Regions from separate parts of the Homo sapiens genome. Here region 1 is linked to region 2. Evidence: promoter capture Hi-C in human tissues and cell types (Jung and others, 2019). All regions are on one chromosome and are shown on one strand. Each heading gives the region's core, a stretch centred on a gene start or on the middle of the fragment in contact. The rest is flanking DNA. Distances are from core to core; before and after follow the strand shown.

Region 1 (6,826 bases), core at 1,744-4,243, 50 kb before region 2:
AGAAAGCCCCAGCAACCACTGGGCTAGGATAATTAACTCATTACTATGGCATTTACTGAGACAGTTGGCTTCTAGATTACAAAGCGTTTCAGGGTAAACTAGCCATTATTTCATCAGGCTTCTCAAAAGTGCTGATTTGTATGTGTGAAATTTCCTGCTGTGAAACTGGATTTGAAACTGGCTAATTGAGTCAAACTATGAGTTGAATCAATATCACAGCTATACAGCAAGTCTTTTAACTAATCTTGCAGATAAATGCTTAAGTTACCTGATAACTGCCAGAAAACATTCCAGGCCAGAAGATACTAATGTGGACAGACCTACATTAGCCACAGAGATGTTAGTCCCTTTGCAGAAAGGGGAGTGGGAGTTCTGGAACAGAAATCTCAGCATGTGTGTGAGGAAGGACAGAGGCAACAGTCAAAGCCAGAGAAAGAGGCTGGGTTCAAACTCGAGAAGTCCCTGAGTTAAGAAGTCCAACAGCCCTGGAACTTAAAATCAAAATTAAAATTAAAAAAAAGTCCAACAGAAAATTTGTTTTGACTAGTAATAGAAAAGCAAAGTTATTATATTGGTATCCTTGAGTAAAAGGTAAATAGTTGACTAAAGGTCTCTGCCTTTGTTTCTCTTCTCTGCCTTGACACAGGGACAGGCAGAAAAGAAGTTACTCAGCAGAGGTTTGGGGTGGTCTTGCCTTCCTTTTCCTACTTTGAATTTTATATGAAATGTTCCAAAGACAAACAGTCCTGCTAAAAAATAGGTCTTTTGAGCTGGAGGGCTAGTATATTTTGTAATCTTTTCAGAAATTGTTTAGAAAGCATAGACTAAACACTATGATTTATATTGTTGAAATATAGAGAAAGTAATTTGGAAACTTTTTGGAACAATCAGTGAGATTATAGGAAAAATTTATAATTTTTTAATGTATCCATGTCAGCCAAAAAATTATATTTAAAGGCTTGTGGCTGGGCATGATGAATGGGGTAAACATTTTTTGCTTTGATCACTTGAGTACTCACTGTGTGAGGGTGTGTGTGAATGTGTGTACATGTGTGTTTATTTCTTCTTCCTGTACATACTCAAACTGAGAGCTTATAGCAATACTCATAACTTTTTCAACAAGCATCCATATCCTTTAGGCCCAATATCTGAAAGAAATTACTGATATCAGGGATGACTTAGCATTAACACCCATTTTTTTCCAGACTTAATGACACAATTACAAAGTTCTAATCTTCAATAATACAATAAAAACTAGAACTCACTGAAAATAATTTGAAAAATGAGGAAATGCTTTTGCAAAAGAAAGGAAAAGAAAAATTTCCTAGAGATGATAAATGAAAGGAAAAAAGAAGGCTGAAACAGAAGGCTCAAAAAGATGTGGTGGGCAGATGTGTGACAGTAGACTTGAGTAGTAACACAGGAATTACGGACGAAACTGGTACAACATAGAACAAATATCCATGAAGTCCATCTGTGTTGTAAATTCTGGTGTTTCCAGGATTTAATCACTTGACCACTGTAATTCCCACATTTTTTCCCTTGGGGAATGTCACTTGATCATGACATCTAAGTTAAGCATTACTGTTTAAATTTCCAATGGTTTCCCTTCCCCACACACATGAAGTCAGTTCTTCTGGCATGGGGCTCTTCGTGGCCTTGCCTTTGCACCTCTTTTCTGCTTTGCCTCCTGCCGCATGGCACTCCAGGAGCTGTTTGATTTCATGGCCCATACTATGCTAGTCCATATCATGTTTTCTTCCCCAGGATGTCTCCATGGAATCCCATGAAGATAGTAAACATACCAAAAAGGTTAAAAAACAAACACCTCCTGCCTGAATTTCAGTTGAGGCATCAATTTCTTAGCTATCAGATACCAAAGTGAGCGGGAGATGGTTTGCCATATGCAGAACTTGCAAAGGAAAGTTCAGTGAACTGTTTCAAAGTCACCTCTGTTGAGCTCATACCTGAGAAACCTAAAGGAGCTGTGGCAGTAGGAAAGTGATGGCTATGTTGGGATGAATCTGTACTCCCACAGTTCTTGGGGGTCAGGGATGCTTGAATGCTTCCTATGGACCAGCTGCAGACACTGTGAGGTGTGGAAGCTAGTATAAACATATCTATGACTCTGCCTGCAAGGCTGAATGGCAGAATATGAAGGTACACTCTGGATGCCTCGGGGCTCAGGAAAGAGTTGCAAATCACCAACTGGGACAGATGCAATTGGATCTAGTGGCTTTCAAGAGAGAATCTCCCCAACACCACCATCATGGGAATAGCCTGAAAAAGGCCAGGAAAGTACCTGTAAGAGTGCCACATTATTATATCTAGAAAATCCAAAGAATGTAAAGCTAGTCTATGATGGTACCAGTTCAAGTACACCTTCCCCCTCCCTTACCTCTCCTCACCCATCCTCCCGAGGGTCAGGAGCTGGCTGGTGAGCAGGTGTCAAGGAGGAGCCACATTCCAGCTGTGTGACTTTGGATAAGTTACTTAACCTCTTTGTTCCTTGGTTTCCTCATTAGTCAACTAGGAACACTTAAACCTGCTTCATAAGTTGCTGGGAGGATTATATTAACTAATATAAACAAGTTGTTTAGAATAATGCTTGGCTCCTAATAAGTACTCAATATATTGTAGCTATTATTGTTGTTTTTAGGAAAACTGTGGAATGAATTTTGACCAAACTGCTAGCTGCTAAAGGCAGTTCCCAAACTAGACAAGTGCTTCAGATGTTCATTGATCTGTAAAATGATGGGACTGCCAGAGTCCTTATCTGGAGACAGGGCGGGATCTTTGCACTACTAGGTAGACTGATGCTCCCCACAGCATTAAGCTGCAGTATGAATCCCAAGAACCACAGACAATAAGGATAAGGAAGGGAGCAGGAGTGAGTGCTGATTTTAGGAAGCAGAGCCAGTTCTGGGAACATTTTTAAATTGCTAAAAATTTCTCACTTGTCTCTTTTTTTTGAACAACTACCTTTGTCAAAAATCCAAGGTGCCCAAATCAATGTTAGGTCACCTGAGTTCCAGAAGATTCTCAAAACTCAGCCGAGTTTGGATTTTGCTGGGTATGCCCAGGATGATGGAAACAAGCGTGAGCCCTGGAGTGGGGACTGGTCTTTGGGTGCATCATCTATTAGCTGTACCACTAAATTCCAGACTCTAGACCTTAGGGTCAATGCAGGCTCTCCCCTCTGTCATCCCTAACCCTGATCTTGATAGCTTAACCACACTATCTCCAACATTCAATTAGCCTTTTCTTAGTCACTTTGTAAAACTCTATCAGGCCCCAGTTTCTGCCTCTGAAAAAGCTTCTACACTCATTTTTATTTCCTATTTCCCCAAATCAGCTTACTAATAACTTCAGATTAGTCTTCCTAAAACGTGTTTAATTGGGTTTAAAACACAGTTTAAATTCCTCTGTTTTAAAACATTTGTTTCTTCCCAGTTGCCTACAGAAAAGATCTCAAATTCCTCAGTCTGACAGTTTGCCTGGACAAGACCTATCTCGTCTTACTCCAGTTATTTTTATTTTTATAAGGACCATCTGCTACTATCAAAAGGAATTAACTCATTTTTAAACTTACCCTATGTTAGCTCACCTACTCTTGCTCCTGTGGTTCTCCACTGCTGGGCTGCTCTCCTGACCCTGCCTCCACCTAACCAATGTTTACTCAGTGCAAATCCCATCCCTTCTCTAAGACTTCCTGGATCACTTACCCATCCTGAAGTTGTTCATCCACTCATTTCTTTTTCAATCCATAAGTATTTATTGCTGCTCATGTATAAAGCACTGTATTAGGTGCTGGGGATATAGCAGTGAACAAATGAGACAAAATTCATGATTCATAAAGGAAAAAAGTAAACAAGATAAGTAAGGAAAATATATTGTATTAAATATAGGGTTAAATGTTATAGGGATAAAACAAAAACAGCAAAAGGAAGATACGGAATTTTGGGGAGGCTGCAGCACTGGCAATGCCTTACTTATATCTCCTTGATTCTGAATATTCTTGGACATGTGAAGGGCCTTCTGGTGTAAGCATCTCTGATTTTCTACCTAAAGGCTTTCTCTGACCGCTGATGCCTGCTCTGCCTACACACAGGCAAGGTTAGAAGTGCCAGGAATTAACACCCCCAGGAGCATCCCTTAGCCAATGTCTAACAGGAATTGAGGAGGGTAAATACTCCTCCCATAGGACAATGTGTTCTGTACAGCCTCCCCAAGCTCCCAGTGGGAAATGAGCCCTATTTGGCCACAGAGTTAACCCACTCATTAATGTACCCTATATTGTCTTCTTTCTCTGTCTCATTTCCCTGTTCCCTTACTGCTATTTCAGGGTATCATCTCCCAAATCAATACCATCTAAAATCCTTTTATCAGGCTCTGCTTCTGAGGAATCCAGTCTAAGATAGATTGAGGTGGTGAAGGAAGGATTTACTGAGTAAAGTCTTGACGGACATGAAGTAGCAAGCTATGAAGTTATTTTGGGGAAGAGCATTCAAGGCAAAGAAAACAGCAAGAACAAAGAGCTTGAAACAGCAGTGCTCCTGGTTTGTTCAAGAAAGAGTGAAGAGGTCAGAAGGTAAAAATAGATGACATCAGTGAGAATGAGGGCCAGCCCCTGTAGGACCTTGTAGGTCATCATGAGTATATTAGGTTTTAATCAGAGTGAGAGGGGAAGTCATTGGAGGGTTTTGAGTAGAAGAGTGACATAATTTGACTGATATTTTAAAAGGATCACTCTGGCTGCTTGGTTGAAACAGGGTAGAGGAAGAAAGATGGGTCACAAGACAGTTGTAAAAATCCAGGAGGTTATTGATAGGTTCTTGAACCAGAGTGGAAGTAAGAAAGGAGATGAGACATGGTCTAATTCTGGATAAATTTTGAAGGCAGAACTAAAGAATTTGCTGATCGATCTGATATGGGAATTAAGAGAAAGAAAAAGTTAAGGATGACTCCAGGGATTTTTGCCTGAGCAACTGGAAGGTAGAGCTGCCATTTTCTGAGATGAGATAGAATACAAGGGAGAAAGTTTTAAAGAGGAAATTAGGAACTCAGTTTTGAACATGTTAAATTGGAGATGGCTTGTAGACAATTAAGTAGAGATTTGAGTGGGGAATTGGAGAAACAAAGGAGGACTTCAGGGAAAATGTCTAGGCTGGAGATAAAAATTTGCCAATCACCAGCATGTAGATGGGATTTAAAGCCATGAACTACATCAGATTTGCAACAGAGCTAATGTGGACAAAAGAGAGAAGAGGACCACAGGCGGAGCCCTCAATTACTTTAGTGTTTATAGATGAGGATTAACCAGCATAGGAGACTGAAAAGCAGCAGCCAGAGTGGTAGGGGGAGAACAAAGAGTGTGTAGAGTCCTGGAAGACAGAAGGCACTGTTTTTGTCAAATGCTGCCAACAGGTCAGGGAAGTGAGTGCCTCCTTTTGCTAATGTCTAAAGCAATTAATTGTTTGCATAACTAATGAGCACAACTAATCATGACTGCCTTCTGTCATGATCACTTCTAGCGTTGCCTTGAAATAGATCTTTGATTGTTATTTGTGTTTTATATGTTTATGAGTCATTTTCTTGGCCACATTATAGACTTTACTAGGGCAAGACTGTGACATAAATTTTCTTGATACCCACGCAGAGCTCAGGAGCAGGCACTGCATGCAATAGGCACTTGACAAACATTTAATCTTTTAATTTGCATATTCAACTAAAATATCACATTCTTCATGAAATATAGCTCAGTTAATCTGTCTGGAAGTGATCTGTCCCTTCTCTGAACTCCAATTGCACTTATTGTCTACACTTATCAATTATCACTTTGCATTACAAGTTATCTTCTCATAGCTATAAGAGGCCTCTCACAAGGGATTCTTAGTTTTTTGATGACACAAAAATGTGTTTCATATGTCCTTACATACTCTAAATGACCTAAAATTAATTAGTTAATTAACTCATGTAATCATCTACCTTGCCTGTGTCTAAAGTGCCTTACATAAGTGCATATTAATAAAATAATTGTTTCCTTAATATCTGCTTCCTTTCTGGCCCAGTGTTATTGTTTGGAGTCCAGGATTTATCGCCCTGTACTGATATGCATGGCTATTTTGACCTATGCCTGAATAAAGCTGTCTCAACATTGCTGGCATTTCATTAGAGAGGTTTATGGCAATATTATAATAATCACAGCCGCTGAAATTTTGTCGCTTATTCTACACATGCACAAAAAAAAGCAAATTAAAATTGTGGTTTATGCATCATCTCCATTCTGGGAAGTAAAGTAATGAGCACAAGATCATCTTGCCCAGGCTGAGGGATGACTTTTCTGGATATTAAAACAGATCCGCTTAACACATCTATGTTTTTCAATTCTGGGCATCCCAAATCCTGCACTGAATTGGGAAATGCATTCATTTTTATCCTCACTTGGTCCAGCAGATTCTGATCGATCTGGACTATAGATTATAAAAATTAGAGAGCACTGAAGCTGTCCTAAAAAGGAGCTTAGGAGGTGCTTATAAATGTAACAACAAGGAGGACAGTTTCTATCATAAAACTACAGTACAAGGATAAAAATGAATGCCTCATTTTTTTGAGTTGAGACTTTCTGAACAAGCAAAGATAAGAGATTTCCTTCCCATAAAAAGAAAATTCACATACTAGAATATTGATGTATCACTTTCATACCCAACTAAATCTGAATCCAATATGACAGCAAACTATGTGTTTTCCAGGTTGACAAAACAGAAACGTCCCTCCAGGGGAAAATGGGAAAGTAAGTGAAGTGTGATGACTCAGTGTCAGTACT
Region 2 (6,836 bases), core at 644-3,143:
GGATACAACCGGAGGCCATTATCCTAAGCAAATTAATGCTGGAACAGCAAACCAAATACTGCATGTTCTCACTTATGAGTGAGAGCTAAACATTAGACATACATGGACATAAAGGTGGCAACAATAGATACTGGAGACTACTGGAGTGGCGAGAAACGGACAGAGGCAAGGGCTGAAAAACCACCTACTGGGTACTATGCTCAGTACCCAGGTGATGAGATCATTTGTACCCCAAATCGCAGCATCACACAAAATACGCAAGTAACAAACACACATATATACCCCCTGAATCTAAAATAAAAGTTGAAATTTTAAGACATCCATTCTTTCCAATGTATCTATTGCTTGGAGAAAAATTAATTTCAAAGATTAAACAATGCTCTCCCTCATTTTAAAAAAAAAGTATTTGAGGATAAGATTGATGCTGTGCTTTAGTGCTGAACTACTGGTAATTTTTTTTTTATTTTTACACATTAACTTATAGTAATAATTTTTAGATTTAATTTAAATGCATTTAATTTAACTTATTTAACTTAATTAATTTGCATAACTAAATCTAAGCTCATATTTGTGGAAAGAGATTTGTTAAATATAAGCATGTCCTATCGGTCTTTCTGACCTCATCACAGTTTTTAAATCCAAAACGACAGCTCACAGTGGGATGATGAGAGTTCAGACACACCTTGTGCTAAAAGCAGGAGAGGCAAGTTCTGGAGGACCACATAACAAGTACCGAAGAAAAGACTTAAAATGCTGCCCAATATCAACATCAAAATGAAATTTTACTAGAACAAATGACCTTCAGGAAACAGGAGAGAAAGAAAGGATAGATAGGACAGGATATAGATTAAGGCCCTGAAACAAATGATGTGCTATCATAACTGTGCCAAATTATCTTTGTACCATCACAAAATAAACTGAAGTTATTTCCTCAAATGTCATTCAAAATAAGCATGCTAAACATTTCTTACCATATTTGAGTATTATTCAATTTACTCAAAGGAAATAATCACCTAAGTGAATTTCAGCAAATCTTTTTATACCGTCTCTCTGACTATAACATTCCTTCTTTGTCACAGACACGATTATAGTTTCATGCCCCTATTTAAGATAACCACAATCATAGTTCAGTACCATTACCTAGATATATCTCATGGTGTAATATCACATATCTACCCATTGAGATAAACAATCTTTTGTAGGTTTCTAACTCATTTGCTTTCCAGTGTTTCCCACTTCTTAAGTTGGGTAGAGAAGGGAGAAGAAAAGAGGAAGTTAGAAGAAAAATGATTACCCTCACCAGGAAAAAAAAAAGAAAAACACAGCAATATTAAGAGTAATTCGGAATTGACTCTTTAACATTGAATCACGTAATAAATTTTTTTCCCTATAATTTATAGGTCACATTTACTTTCATCTTCTTATTTTGTGGGAAGGAGAGGTGGTATTCAATTTTCCCCTCTGCCTTGTGTGTTTTCTTTGCAATTGGAAACGTAGCAGAAATGGAGCTGGGAGTGCAGTAACTGGGACAATTGATTTCTTTTTGGTTACCTTGTAATTTCTGGTTGTATTCGGTCCTGTCAGATTGGCTCCTCCTCAAGGTGCCAGAGTGGTCCCCAGAAACACTGCTCTCAACCACAGTGTCAGTCTTCCTTCTCTCCAGCATATAGAGTCTAGACCTCAAGAAGGCCAGATTCTTTTTCTTGGTGACCATGTTTTCTTTCCCAGTGGCTTCTTTGGGCTCCATATTAGGCAAAGACAAGCTTTGGAGGCTTGCAGGCAATGGCTGATTGCTAAGGTGCCTCAGGGTGAGGGTTAAAGCTACTAGAGTGACGAGTTTATCTGCTCCCTTCTAACTAAACCGCTTCACTCCAGGGTTACCTGGCTGTGACTGCCACCACCTCTACGAAGTCCCAGAGCTCCACCCACATGAGGTCATTCTTTTTTAAACCTAGAATCCAACAGGGGAAGCTGCCACCTGTTACCTGAGAGACTTGCAGCACAGAGCTAGGCAAAGCAGGGACTGTGCTGTCACATGCTACTGAAGCAAACAAAAATCCTATTGTATGGGGTGAGGGGTGGGGAAAAAGGAAAATGAACAAGGTGAGGCAGTGAGGAAGGAAGTACACGTTAGCATAACCCGCCGTTTATGGGTTTAATGTGTGCCCATGGGTGTGTGCAGGTGCACTCAGGGCACTGTGTTGTGGTCTGCTGCCTGGAGGCAGACCAGGGCTTGTGCGTGGCTTTTGGCTAGAGTTACTCACAGGTGACCCACGGAGTCAGTGCAGGGGCTATGAGAATTTGCATTTGCATCAAAACGGTGAGTACAGAATCATTTTCAGTGATTACTGTGCACACTCAAAGTTATGCTTCTGCCTTTAAGCGTTGAACATTCAGCAATTATTTACTGAAAACATACTTGCCAAACCCTGATCCGCATTCCTGAGGAAATAAGGATTCACATGTGAGAGTCATCTGGCAGCAGGCAGAAGAAGTGGAGGGGAATGCCCATAGAAGCCTAGAGCCTTTTCAGATTTCTCACTCTCCACAGGCTGCCCTTGCCTGAAATTAATCCTTCCATGGTCCCACCCTGTCCTTTTATGTTTTGGTCCTTAGGAAAATAAGCCCCGTGTCAGGGTTCAGTTTCTATAAGATCTTTTCCCTGTCCCTTTCATAGACGGAGTGCCAGAAAAGGGCATCCCACCTTGGGAATTTAAGGAGAGGAAAAATGTTTGAAACTGAAGGGGCACTACACTTCTAGAAAGTAGAAAGGATAGGGCAGGGATTAAAAGAGAGAAAGGCAGACAGTGATAGGCCTTTCATTAATTTTTTTGAAGTTGTTTTTCCTCATATTTCCTGAGATCTCTCAAGGGAAAAATTCTAAGAAGCTCTGGGAATGTGCTGAGTGCTCTGTATGCCTTCGTTAAAGAAAAGAAAGACCCTAAGGAGGAAAATGGATTCTCTCCTATTGTAAAGGGACCACCAAAATCCAGCTCTGTGCTGACCAGTCTGAATCTTGCATAACTTCTGTTGGAAAAGATTTATAAATGAGGAGAAAGATGTAAAAGTCATTTCCCAGCTCAGGATGTGTGTGCTCAATATAGTTTGCATAATTATCTTAAAAGATAAATGACACATCTTCACCCACTATGGAGACATCTATATATAGCTTGGCGTATTGAATGGCTTTTATTTAATATAATTGATAGTCTTTTTTGAATAAATCCTCCCAAGTACATTTAATAAATACTTTTAAAGGCTTATTTACCTCTAAAATATAAAAGGAATTTTTTGGATTTATGTCAAAATGCCTCAATTGTGTTCGAATATTATATATGTATGAATGTATGTATGCATATACACACTTATTTATATTCACCTGGTAACCACCAGGGATTTATTTAGATACGGTATCACTGAAAAAAAAAGTTCAATTAAAACTACAGGACTTAATGGGTAACATGAGGTTTAGGACAGAGCACTCAGAAACTTTGTCAATGGACCATAAAAATCAGATCAAGACCTAATAAAAATGGTAGCAAGAATTTACACATGATAAATGCTTAAGAAATGCATAAATACTACAGCAAATATAACCCTTTATCTTGAAAAAGACACGGCATTTGCTTGTGGAAATGGGCCTCAGAAAGGTCACAGCTTAAGGGTTGTGAAATGGCAGAAGAAGCATTATTTGAAATCGGGGGAAATTTATTACACCAGATGTGGATGGGTGTGGCTCATAACTCAGGCAGTGAACTGAGGTCACTGGTAAGGTTTGAGGATTGTACCTGTGTGAGTTTTGTGTATTCTTATGTGGCTCAGGTCATCTGGGTAGTTTTCTGCATTCGACTAGTGTTTCAAGTAGACAAAATCACACACAAACAAATGCGAAATTGTGTTATGTTCAAACAATTCCCTAATATGTCAATCTTGTTGGAACAAATTTGTATTTTCAAAACAAGTGTTATAGCAGAACTTATTGTAATAGCTTCATTATACAACCCTGTATTGTTTAACAACAAGGATACATTCTAAGAAAAGCATCATTAGACAATTTTGTCATTGTGTGAACATTATGGAATATATTTTCTTTAAACGTAGCTTCATTATACCATCCTGTATTGTTTAACAACAAGGATACATTCTGAGGAAAGCATTATTAGGCAATTTTGTCATTGTGTGAACATCATGAAATGCATTTACGCACACCTAAATGGTATAGCCTACTACATGTCTAGGCTATATGGTACCGCCTATTGCTCCTGGGCTATAAACCTGTTACTGTACTGAGTACCATAGGCTATTGTAATGCAATGGTAAGTATTTGTATCTCTAAACGTATTTAAACATAGAAAAGTACAGTAAAAGTATGGTATTATAATATTATGAGACCACTATTGTATATGTAGTCCATCTTTGACTGAAACATCATTATACAGCACCTGACTATGTTTTTTATTTTCACCAGTTATTAAGATACATAACAGCTACTATGAGTTCAGTGGTAAATACATATTTTATTTATTCACATTATTTTGAATGTAAAATTTAAGAATGATAGATAAATTCTCTCAGAACAATCTTCTATTCAATCAGGGAATCAGGCAGACACTGTTGGTTGCTTACTTGGTCTTCATTTTTACCGCCTCCTACCCCCATGCTATTCTTTGCCAACAGAACCCTTCTCTTGTTCAAGGCAGCATTAGTCTTAGCCAATCAACGATAATCTTTTTTCCTATTTTTTTTCTATCTCCCTTTCTCTTAGGGTTGGCCATGTAACCCCGGTCCTGGCAAATAGGACCTTTATAATAGTCTGAAAGAATAAGGGGTGGATTATTGATCCTGGGAAAGCTTTTGGTTCTCCAATAAAAGGGGCAGTCTCATCTGGCTTCAACCTTCCCCCTTCTTCTAGACTGATCACAGGGGTAATGCACGGAGCAGTCACAGCCCTCCTGTGTCCATGAGAAAAGACCAAGAGATCCATGGGCTCTGATACCATTGACCTATGGAACCAACATCAGTAGTCATTCACCTTTAGACTTGTTATGAGGGTCAAATAAATCTCCCCTCCCTAAGCTATTGTTAATTGGAGTTCTTGTTGCGAATACAGTTCTAGTGGATTTAACAGATGGTGCTTAATTTACATACAGATTCACAGTTCTCTTGCTTATCTCCTTGACATTTCTTAAGCCAGTGTGTTTAGAATCCCTAGCATAAAACATGACTTAATGACTTAGTTTTGCTAGAAATGAGAACAGCCAGGTCAAAGAGATTTTGAGTGCTTTAACACTGGGGCATCTTTCTAGAGCATCAATGAGACTGGAGAAGCAAGGCCTCTAAGCAAAGGTATAAAAATGCTTTAATACAGAAGGTTGATATTACTTAAATAAATAAAATATTGATATTAAGACATTTAAATGTATTTTGCTTGAATAAGGAACAAACAATTCCCGGTTCATTATTAGGAAAAGCACTGGACAGTGAGTTCAAGACTCAGTTTTAGTCTTGACTGTGATGTAAATCAGCTTCTTGATCTTACGGTTCACATAGTCTCCCTAGGTCCCAATTTCTTCATTTGTAAAATATAAGGGAGAATTCATCATTAGTGCTATTCACTGAATATTTTCAGTTCTCTCTTTAGGCACATGGAGGTATTTCACTTCCCTACACCTTTTTGATTTAGACTTGGCCAAGCAACTTGCCTTGGCCAAAGAAATTGATTGAATGTGAAGGATGTCACTTTTAGCGAATGTTTTAATAACACAGTGGGTGTTTTTGCTATAGCTGTTTTTCTGTCATTCTTGGTACTGGCAAGATTCCAGGCAGTGGCTGCTCCATCAGGATGAGTCCTGGAATGTAGATGACTCAGAACAAAACCCCCAGACACCCCATGATGATTGTATAGTTTGATCATGAAAGAATCCTTTGTTGCTTTAGTCTACTGAGATTTGGGGCTTTTTTTATTACCTAGACTTAGCATAACCTAAACTATTCTTATTAATGTTGGATGTGGATTACTTGATACATAAATCTCTTCACGTCTAGCATTATGTGATCTCAGGATTCTGAAATAATCCAAGGTGATTCTAGATTATAACACTCATAATTCCAAAACAGAAGTCACATCTCTTGAATGATGTCATGAATAAACTAAATTGGAGGAAGGAAAGAGAAAAAGTTAGGAGCTTATTGTAGCAGTCCAGGCAAGAAATGCTTGGACTACAATAGTAGGAATAGGAATGAAGAAAAGTTGATGAATTCGAAATACCTTTTAAGAGTTGAACTGACACAACCTGTAGATGATTTGATTTAAGTGGATGAGTAAAAAATTGAATGAAAGATGAATTCTAGGTTTTAGATTGAATAACTGGGAAGATATTTTGTGCTGTGCACTATTATAGGAGGGAAAAAGCACAGAGGAAGAGTAAGTTTGGTGAGATTATCAAGAATTCAATTTAGGATACATTAGTGTTAAGATGCTTATAAGAGATAAAAGAGAAATGTCAAGTAGCCTTCAGATTTATGAATTTAGAGTCACTATTTAGATTTTAGATAAAAACTGGAGTCATCAAAATATACATGTTATGTTAAGTCATAGATTGATGAGGTCATTTAAGAAGAAAATATGTGAAGAGGAAAAGGATCAAAATCAAACCCTGAAGGACTCTGAGTTTAGAATGGTTTTGGAGGAAAATGCATCAAAGAAAGTAGGAGAGCAACCATTGAGGTAGGAGAAAAACAGTGGAATGTGGCATCATAGAAGTCTAGAAGCAAGTTTTTCCAAAATGAAAGGATAGCCTGCCAGGAAACCAAATGAAATGAAAATAATTCCTTTT

Evidence for each region. Contacts are between HindIII fragments. The study calls those that stand out against the background at their distance.
Region 1: a fragment that was not itself captured here is called in contact with the fragment with the promoter of ARHGEF38 in region 2 in 1 of the 25 tissues and cell types used here (H1 embryonic stem cells).

The regions. Positions count from the first base shown.
Region 1 is chr4:105,598,969-105,605,794 of GRCh38, reverse strand. The region is part of intron 2 of ARHGEF38 (Rho guanine nucleotide exchange factor 38); the gene reads right to left. Among named protein-coding and RNA genes, the nearest start is that of ARHGEF38-IT1, 41 kb to the right of the region's middle. The HindIII fragment of the contact is 5,874 bases long and covers 57-5,930 here.
Region 2 is chr4:105,547,677-105,554,512 of GRCh38, reverse strand. ARHGEF38 (Rho guanine nucleotide exchange factor 38) reads right to left here and starts at 1,893. Exons shown (of 14, transcript NM_001242729.2): 1 at 1,552-1,893. The coding sequence starts at 1,747. LOC105377352 (a long non-coding RNA gene) reads left to right here and starts at 2,229. Exons shown (of 5, transcript NR_188418.1): 1 at 2,229-2,320. The HindIII fragment of the contact is 7,071 bases long and covers 1-6,423 here.